Regions from separate parts of the Homo sapiens genome. Here region 2 is linked to region 1. The links are contacts of gene promoters, found by promoter capture Hi-C in blood cells and fetal thymus (Javierre and others, 2016). All regions are on one chromosome and are shown on one strand. The core of a region is centred on a gene start or on the middle of the fragment in contact, and the rest is flanking DNA. Distances in the headings are between cores, read along the strand shown.

Region 1 (4,330 bases), core at 1,290-3,789:
ATATGTGTATATTAAACTAGGTCTTCCTAGGTATTCCTTTCTTCAAAATTGCTGATGATTATACATATGTATTCAGAGTTTATCTTAAGTTTGTCTCTCCTTTCTACTCCCAGAAAGCTCTTTGAAAACAAGACTATGTCTATTTTGATTACCACTGTACCCTTAACACAGTGTCTAGCATATGGTAGGAATTCAGTATCTATTTGTGGAATGAATGATTGAAGGTTGAAAAAATGACTTATGTGGGAATGGAGATTTGTTCATCTATTTATTCATTCCACAAATATTTATTGAGCACTTATTATGTGCCAGATCCTGGGGATATAACAGCAAAAAAGACAAAATTTCTGCTTCATGAAGCTTACCTTCTAGAGGGTAACACAGACATTAAACAAATAGATATATATTATAACTTAAGTGCTATCAAGGAAAAAAAACCCCCGAGGCAGTTATTTTAGATAGAGTGGTTGGGTAAGGCCTCTTTGAGATTTTAAAGGACATCCGGAAGAAATTGACAGAATGAGCCATGAAATAGTCATCCCTCGGTATACACAGGGGATTGGTTCCAGAACCCCCATGTATACCAAAATCCACGGATACTCAAGTTCTCCAGTCAGCCCTGTAGAACCTGCATAGAGGAAAAGTTGGCCCTCTGTATGTGGGTTTTGCATTCCAGGAATACTGTCTTTTCTTTTTTCTTTCTTTCTTTTTTTTTGAGACTGGATCTTGCTCTATCACCCAGGCTGCAGTGCAGTGGTACGATCATAGCTTACTGCAGCCTCGATCTCCTAGGCTCAAGCAATCCTCCTGCCTCAGCCTCCTGAATAGCTGGGACCACAGGTGCACCACCACACCCAGCTACTTTAAACATTTTTTAGTAGAAATGAGGTTTCGCTTTGCTGCCCAAGCTGGTCTCGTACTCCTGAGCTCAAGCAATCGTCTCACCTTGGCCTCCCAAAGTGCTGAGATTACCGGCATGAGCCACTGTGCCTAGTTGAAATACTGTATTTTTTTTTTTTTTTTTTTTTTTTTTGAGACAGAGTCTCACTCTGTCGCCCAGGCTGGAGTGCACTGGCGCAGTCTCAGCTCACTGCAACCTCCACCTCCCGGGTTCACGCCATTCTCCTGCCTCAGCCTCCTGAGTAGCTGGGACTACAGGCACCCGCCACCATGCCCGGCTAATTTTTTGTATTTTTAGTAGAGACAGGGTTTCACCGTGTTAGCCAGGATGGTCTCGATCTCCTGACCTCGTGATCCGCCCGCCTCGGCCTCCCACAGTGCTGGGATTACAGGCGTGAGCCACCGCGCCCGACCTGAAATACTGTATTTTCAATCTGTGTTGGGTTGGGAAAAATCCACCTGTAAGTGGAGCCGGGTAGTTCATACCCATGTTGTTCAAACGTCAACTTTACTCACAAAAATGTAGAGTCATTAAAATCTTAACAGGCAAGAAAAATAACAGGTCAAACTGAATTCTGTAAGGTTGTGCACCAATAATTACCTATTATTTCTAAAATTTAGGGAAATGAAATAACAAATCAGTTAGATTAGAACTTCATCTCAAAAACCATGCAGCCCAGGTAAATTTGTGTACTGAGAAACATTAGGAAAAAGCAAGAGGATACTTACGCTGAATCAAAACAAGTTGTCTCACACCAACCCAGAAAATGTTACTTTTACAACTAGATCTGAGATATGCGCTTAACATTTTAAACGAAGATTTACTGACTGTAATGGTGTCCAATACCACTCTCCCAGAGTTTTCAAGGGAATAGGAATTAGGTTGTATAATCCACGTGGTTAGATTCCACTATCTATTCCATCTAGCCCGGGAAGACTCCAACTATCTTTCTTCACCATGGATACAGGGACCTAAGTTTGGCTGTAAGAGTATTCTTTGTTTGATAGCCAAGGCACTGAAAAGTGACTACACACTACTCTCCTCCCAGGCAGATCTCTGACTGATCACAATATATCCAGCTCCATCCAGATATCCAGATCTCGTATCCTTTTTCGAACTCACATCGTCCCCACCCTTCTCCCCAAAAAAGCCACACAGACGGAGTCAGAGAACGGAGCCTGATCCCTTCAATCAACCCCTTAGCCTGCTCCAAGACTGAATTTCACGCCCCGCCCCCCCCGGCCCCAACCTGCAGTTTGAGCGTGGACAACCTCAGCGGCAGAGCCCGCCTTGGTTCGGTATCAGGGCCTGGGATCCTGCTGGTCCAGATTCACCGGCCCCAGGCAGACTGGATGAAACACACTGGGCCGCGATGCTCGTCAGATCCCGACCACTCCTGGAGCAGGAGGCGGCAGACACACTGACAAACAGGGTGACGCGCACACCGTGCGCACAACGCGCATCACTTGTCCGCAGAAGTGGAAGACGTACCTGGCTCGCAGAGTTGGGTCCCGAGCCGGCTGTCGGGAGGTGCTGCCCAAGGGTCAGAGGTCCAAACTGGACTTGGCCACCCTCACGATTCTCACTTGGAGCAGCCCTGCGGTGGCCCAGCTGCAGCGGCACAGTCCCGGCGCCTTCTGATTGGCTCAGCTACAGCCCCTCGCGTATTCGCTTCCGGGTGAGAGGTGCCCGGTCGCCCCAGCAACCAAGTCGCACCTGGAGCTGTCCTAGCGCCTAGTTCTCTCCCGGCCGCAGAGCTGGCCGCCCAGGGGGAGTCGCAGAGTTTGGAAGATCTCTCTAACACCTCTCGGCCAAGTGAGTGTCCCTCCTCCTAACGACCCGGGCAGAGAAGAGCTCCTTTAAGTCGAACTAGCGTGGAGTCAGAACCTGCTTGGCTCCCGGTAACTCCTGTGGGGGTGTGATATATTTCCTGACCGTCTAGCCGAGGGGCACGGGGGAACCCCTGGTCTGGGAATCTAGCTCTGATTCTGTTGTTAATTCGCTGTTGAGACACCCGAGGCGCGTGCCAACCTCCCTGGGCCTCAGTTTCCGCTATGGTGCCGGGTGGTCTCTGTGAGGTTCCCTCTAGCTCTGACGTTCCCAAGTTTCGAATGTAGAACATTTTAGCGGCAATTGAAAACAGTCCAGTTTCTGATATGATTACGTTTAATGCTCTGCTTCATAGGCACTTAACGATTCCTTCCGAAGTGCCCTTCATTCACTAGACGTTCTGTTACTATTAGTACTAAACACGGAGTCGGACAGTGGGGTGAGAAGAGATTTGACTAATCTGCCATCCGTGTCCTGGAGGAACTGGGTGGGATAGGGGATCCCGATACAAAAGCATGGTTTTAATAGAACCTTAAGTACTACAGTAGGAATAGGCCCAGAGTGCCGTGGGGGTTCCTGAAGGAGTCTGAGGTTGACAAGTAATGAGAAGAAAGGCTTTGTGGGAGAGCTCATACCTGAGCTGGGGCTACAAGAATACAATAGCTAATATTTACAGAGTTTAGACACTGGGCTAAGTGCTTTAACTAGATTAGCTCATTTACTTGATTTGCCCCATCTAAGGATGAGGAAACTGAGGCATAAGATAATTATTTGTCCAAGGTCAGAGAAAATGGTGGAGTCTGGATGCAAAGGTAGGTAGTCCGATGCCAGAGCATGAACCCCTAACTACTACACTCTATTTTGCCAACTCTTGAGGATGAATAGCAGTTAACCAGGTAAAGAAGAGAAGGGTGTTCCACCCAGAGTACGGCATGGCATCTGTGGGAAACTACAAGCAGATCTGGTAATCTAGTTAGTTATCATTAGTTAAACACTTAGAAAGTAGCTCTGACGCCTGTAGTTCCAGCTACTTGGGAGGCTGAGGCAGGAGAATGGCGTGAACCCGGGAGGCGGAGGTTGCAGTGAGACGAGATCAAGCCACTGCACTCCAGCCTGGGCGACAGAGCGAGACTCCGTCTCAAAAATAAATAAATAAATAAATAAATTAAATTAAATTAAATTAAATTAAAAAATAAAAAAGAAAGAAAGTAGCTCTGTGTCCCTGCTCTCTTGGAATTTCACATCTTGCAGACATGTAAATAACTAATTAATGAGCACACATGGCAATTTCTGTATACCACCATACTTCACCCTTTATCCACAACCAAATCTTAGAAATTATGGGGAAAAAATAAGCAAACATAACTAAATTCAGATTTTTCTAAGATTTAGTGTTAATTAGTGTCTATATTTAACCCCTAAACGAGATCAGAATTCTAGCAAGATTGCTCTCTATCCTCCACACCATTTCCATATTGATATTACCTGAGTTTTAGTTACAGATTCTTTTTTTTTCTTTTTGAGTTTTTAATTTTGGTGTAGATGGAATCTCACTATGTTGCCCAGGCTGGTCTCAAACTCCTGGGCTCAAGCAGTCCT
Region 2 (4,368 bases), core at 638-3,137, 130 kb after region 1:
CTTGAAAGACTTGTAGAATCTCAATAATTCGACTCACCACAGCTACTCTTTCTTCTAAATTTTCAGTTTCTACAATACATCTGGGAATAAAAAAAAAGTGAACTAAAGGTTTTAGAGTTTTTCCAATAAAGTTATAGCTTAAAGAATTTAGTAAATAAAATAATGTAGAGAGTAGGGGGGTGGCGATAGTATAACTACTATAGAGAAGACACATTCAGGGTGACTGATAGAAGGAAGGCAGTGCCTCCAGTCAGGCATACTGCTCTTTCCCGTCTTCTAGACTGGTACAGTCAAACAATCATTTTCCTACTATATTTGGTGCATCCTCTATTAGCATCAGAATTAACTGGTGAGGCCACTATCTTGTGGAATGTATGGAGGTCTTTGTGAGGTCTTTGTGATGTGGGTGTATTCTAGTAGAATTCAAGAATTCTGTTGTGTTCTATTCTTCATCTAATTGCAAGATTTTAGTGATTAATGCTCAATTTCTTTCTTTCATATATTATTGGCTACATACATTTCTAGGAACAGCTCTGTTCCTATGTTTCCTACATTTCTACGAACAGCATTAAATGTAATGGCAAAAACTGCAATTACTTTTGCACCAACCTAATATATAATTGCATTGAGATTCTGGACTTGTGGTATGATAGTATGAGGAGCTTCACTGAGTGAAACTGGTAAAAATTATTAAAACACACATACACACAAACACACACATGCACACGCACACACACACATTTAAAGTCTCTAGTAATGGCCCTGAGAGCAAATGGCAAAAGAAACATCTATTCAGGAAAATCTACAAAAATTTGGTAAGAGAGGGGAGAGAGTCTGTGGTATTTGAACCAAGACTGGTCCCTCCCTTCTTTCTCCCAGCTCAGTGAGGGTGAACTGAGCATCTACTCCAGATTCCTGCAGTCAAGAACACCTAGCTCCCGGTGAGGTGCAGGAGCAGGACTTCAGTTTTCTCATCCTGTCCCTGCTGCCTGTTGCTGAGGCCAAGTCCCAGTTGAGTGCAGCTGAGAAGTAGGAATACCCTTTTTTGCCCAACTTCCACTTATGGAATGGAGACGCTACCTTGGGTGTGATGTTTTGAGCATACTGAGAAAAGAGCCCTTCCTCTGGTTCCTGAGGGCGTGGTTCCATGCCAGAAGAGGCGGGTAAGAAGACCTCAGGCTGCAGTAGCATCCGTCTGCCACTCTACCTGCTCAACCAAGCACTTAGCTCCTAGGGCAGAAGTGTCACTCAGAGAAAAGCTTGCCATTGTTGCCCAGCCCCAGAGCCCTGTTTCAAACAGATAGCTCCTAATTTCTTGTCATTTGCAACAAAGTATAAAGTAGTTTAAATTTAATGGTGCCCTTAGGAACAGTGGAAATTGTGGTGAAAGGCAATGGGGAAGAGATTTGTGGATCTAATGAAGATACACCCTAGACTGTAGGCAGAGTAGTTTGCAGGAGACAACTAGGAAATAAGACGGCTGAGAGGAGCCCTCCTGGGGTCAGAACAAGTATCAAACAGAAATCTCAGAAACCATTCCTTCAAAGGAGCCACAATTTGATTGCATTATTTTGTATAGCATTTATGCCACCAGAAAATTGTTGAAAACATCAGAGCAATCAGCTGGCAAATTGTGGAGTTTCATAGCTGGGTGTGTGTGGTCAGGTAAGGAGTGGATGAGTCTTTCCAGTACCACTGCCATGCAATAAGAAGCCCTGGAAAGGGGGCTGGGGAAGGAGGAGCAGTACTCAGAGTTGCTACACTATATTATCTGAAATGTCAGGTTTCCAGCAAAAACAGATGAGGTATGCAAACCAATAGGAAAGTATGACTCTTACAAGGGGTGGGGGTGGGGCGGAGGGGGTGGAAGGAACAGAAACTGCCTGTGAGAGCAACCAAATGTCAGATTTAACAACAGTAACAAAAAAGATTTCTAAGTAGCCATTATGAATACGGTCACGGAATTAAAGGAAAGCATGAAAAAGAAGGAAAGGAAGGTATTGATGACAATGTGCATCGAAGAGAGGATATCATTAAAGAGATAGAAACTATAAAAAGGAACCAAAGGGAAATTCTGGAATTAAAAAGTACAATAACTGAAATAAAAAACTTACTGGATAAGCTCAATAGTATATTTGAACTGAAAAAAAAAATATTAACTTGAAGATAGAGCCATTGTTCAAAAACGAAGGTAAAATAAAGATTTTCCCAGATAAACAAAAACTGAGAGAATTTGTTGCTAGCCCACCCTCCAGAAGAAATACTAAAGGAAGTTCTTCAGGCTGAAAAGCAAGTGATCCCAGATGGTAATTCGAATCCACACAAAGACCATCAGTAAAGGTAATTGTGTAATTATTAAAGACATTTTGTAAATGCGTATTTTTTTCTCATTTCTTCTCATAACTGACTTAAACAACTGTATAAAATAATATAAACATTGTTGAATTTATTGACATAGAAATGTAATATATTTGTAATATGTTGCCAATAATACACAAAGAAGGTGGGTGAGAGCAAAGCTTTAATGGGCTAAGAGGATGATGACAAATGGTAAAGTAATAACTGTTAACAATGTATTGTTTGATTTGCATCATTAATAAGATGTAATATGTATTACAGTACCACAAAAAAAAGGGAGAAAGGGAATAGAGCTACATAGGAGTAATATTTCATATGTCACTGGTATTAAGCTACTATAAGTCTGAAGCTGATTCTGATAAGATGTGTAGGGTAAACTGTAAGGCAACCAGGCAACCACTAAAAGGACCTCAAAAAAAGTTAATGAAAAAAATTAATGCTACATTAGAAAAACATTCAATATTTTCTAATGACAAATATTATCATTTTCATCAACACTCAATGCAAAAGAAAGGAGGAATAGAGGAAAAAGACATGAGACATATAGAAATAAAATTGCATTGGTCAGGAGCGATGGCTCACGCCTGTAATCCCAGCACTTTGGGAGGCCAAGAGGGGTGGATCACTTGAGGTCAGGAGTTCAAGACCAGCCTGGCCAATGTGATGAAACCCCATCTCTACTAAAAATACTAAAATTAGCTGGGTGTGGTGGTGTGCGTCTGTAGTTGCAGCTACTCAGGAGGCTGAGGCCTGAGAATTGCTTGAACCCGGAAGGTGGAGGTTGCAGTGAGCTGAGATCACACCACTGCACTCCAGCCTGGGCAACAGAGCCAGACTCTGTCTCAAAAAAAAAAAAAAAGAAAAAGAAAGAAAGAAAATTAAAATTAGGTGAGTGTGATATCACACACTTGTAATCCTGGTTACTCTGGAGGCTGAGGTGGGAGGATCGCTTGAGCCTGGGAGGTGGAGGTTTCAGTGGGCCGATGTGCCACTGCACTCCAGCCTATGTGACAGAGCAAAACTCCGTCTCAAAAAAAACAAACAAAAAAATTGCATTGAAATTCATAACATAGCTGACAGCTATAAAATATAAGAATGCTAGGAATACTTACTTCTCAAACCACAGAGTGAGGTTGGTGGTATGTCGAATCATTTTCAGAAGATTAGGAGAGTTAATTTCTTTGTCTTCTTTTGTCCACACACTTCCAACTAATTCTGATGGCTGTACAGCTCTAAAATCATCAATACATAATTCTACATGACACTTTTTTCTCTAATATAGACATTGTTTTATTAAGTAAAGGAGACAAATAAAAACTAAACTCTCATATGAACTTTCCTCTTATACCAACAGAAAGGTCTGTGAAAACAAGGTATAACAAAAAAGTGTAATTATGCATATTTCCTTATGGATTTTTTTTAAACTTTTTTTTTTTTTTTTGAGATGGAGTTCCACTCTTGTTGTGCAGGCTGGAGTACAATGGCATGATCTTGGCTCACTGCAACCTCCGCCTCCCAGGTTCAAGTGATTCTCCTGCCTGAGCCTCTTGGGTAGCTGGGATTACAGGCGCCCGTCATCATGCCTGGCTAATTTTTTGTGTTTTTAGTAGAGACAAGGTTTCACCATGTTGGCCAGGCTGGTCTCGAACTCCTGACCTCGGATGATCCACCCGCCTTGGCCTCCCAAAATGCTGGGATTACAGGAGTGAGCCACAATGCCCAGCCTTTAAAAACTGTTTTTAAAAACTATTTTTATGGAAATACCTGTGTACTTTTAGCGTTCCTTTATAGTAGCATTTTGCTTTGGGCAAGGTTGAGACTCCTCCATAATATCTTTCCCAGCACTTATAAACATTATTAATAAATTAGGGTGACAAAGTAGACATTTAAGTAATGATATCTGTTATAATCAGTTCAAAGAGGGTACAGTAATCAATGCATTCACACATCTTTTTTTTTTCTTTTGGTCTAAAGGAGGAGAGGAAAAAAACCTACCACAAAAGGGTCCTA

The links. Contacts are between HindIII fragments. The CHiCAGO score rates a contact against its expected background, and 5 or more counts as called.
Region 2: a contact is called between a fragment that was not itself captured here and the fragment with the promoter of DHX57 in region 1, in 1 of 17 cell types (M2 macrophages). The highest score is 9.2, in M2 macrophages.

Annotation. Positions count from the first base shown.
Region 1 is chr2:38,873,395-38,877,724 of GRCh38, forward strand. It overlaps DHX57 (DExH-box helicase 57), which reads right to left and starts at 2,540. Exons shown (of 24, transcript NM_198963.3): 1 at 2,393-2,540. MORN2 (MORN repeat containing 2) reads left to right here and starts at 2,582. Exons shown (of 5, transcript NM_001145450.3): 1 at 2,582-2,716. The coding sequence starts at 2,659. RefSeq lists an enhancer at 1,749-2,733. The HindIII fragment of the contact is 7,829 bases long and covers 359-4,330 here.
Region 2 is chr2:39,007,114-39,011,481 of GRCh38, forward strand. SOS1 (SOS Ras/Rac guanine nucleotide exchange factor 1) reads right to left here. Exons shown (of 23, transcript NM_005633.4): 15 at 3,471-3,590; 16 at 1-80. Among named protein-coding and RNA genes, the nearest start is that of SOS1, 110 kb to the right of the region's middle. The HindIII fragment of the contact is 1,260 bases long and covers 1,258-2,517 here.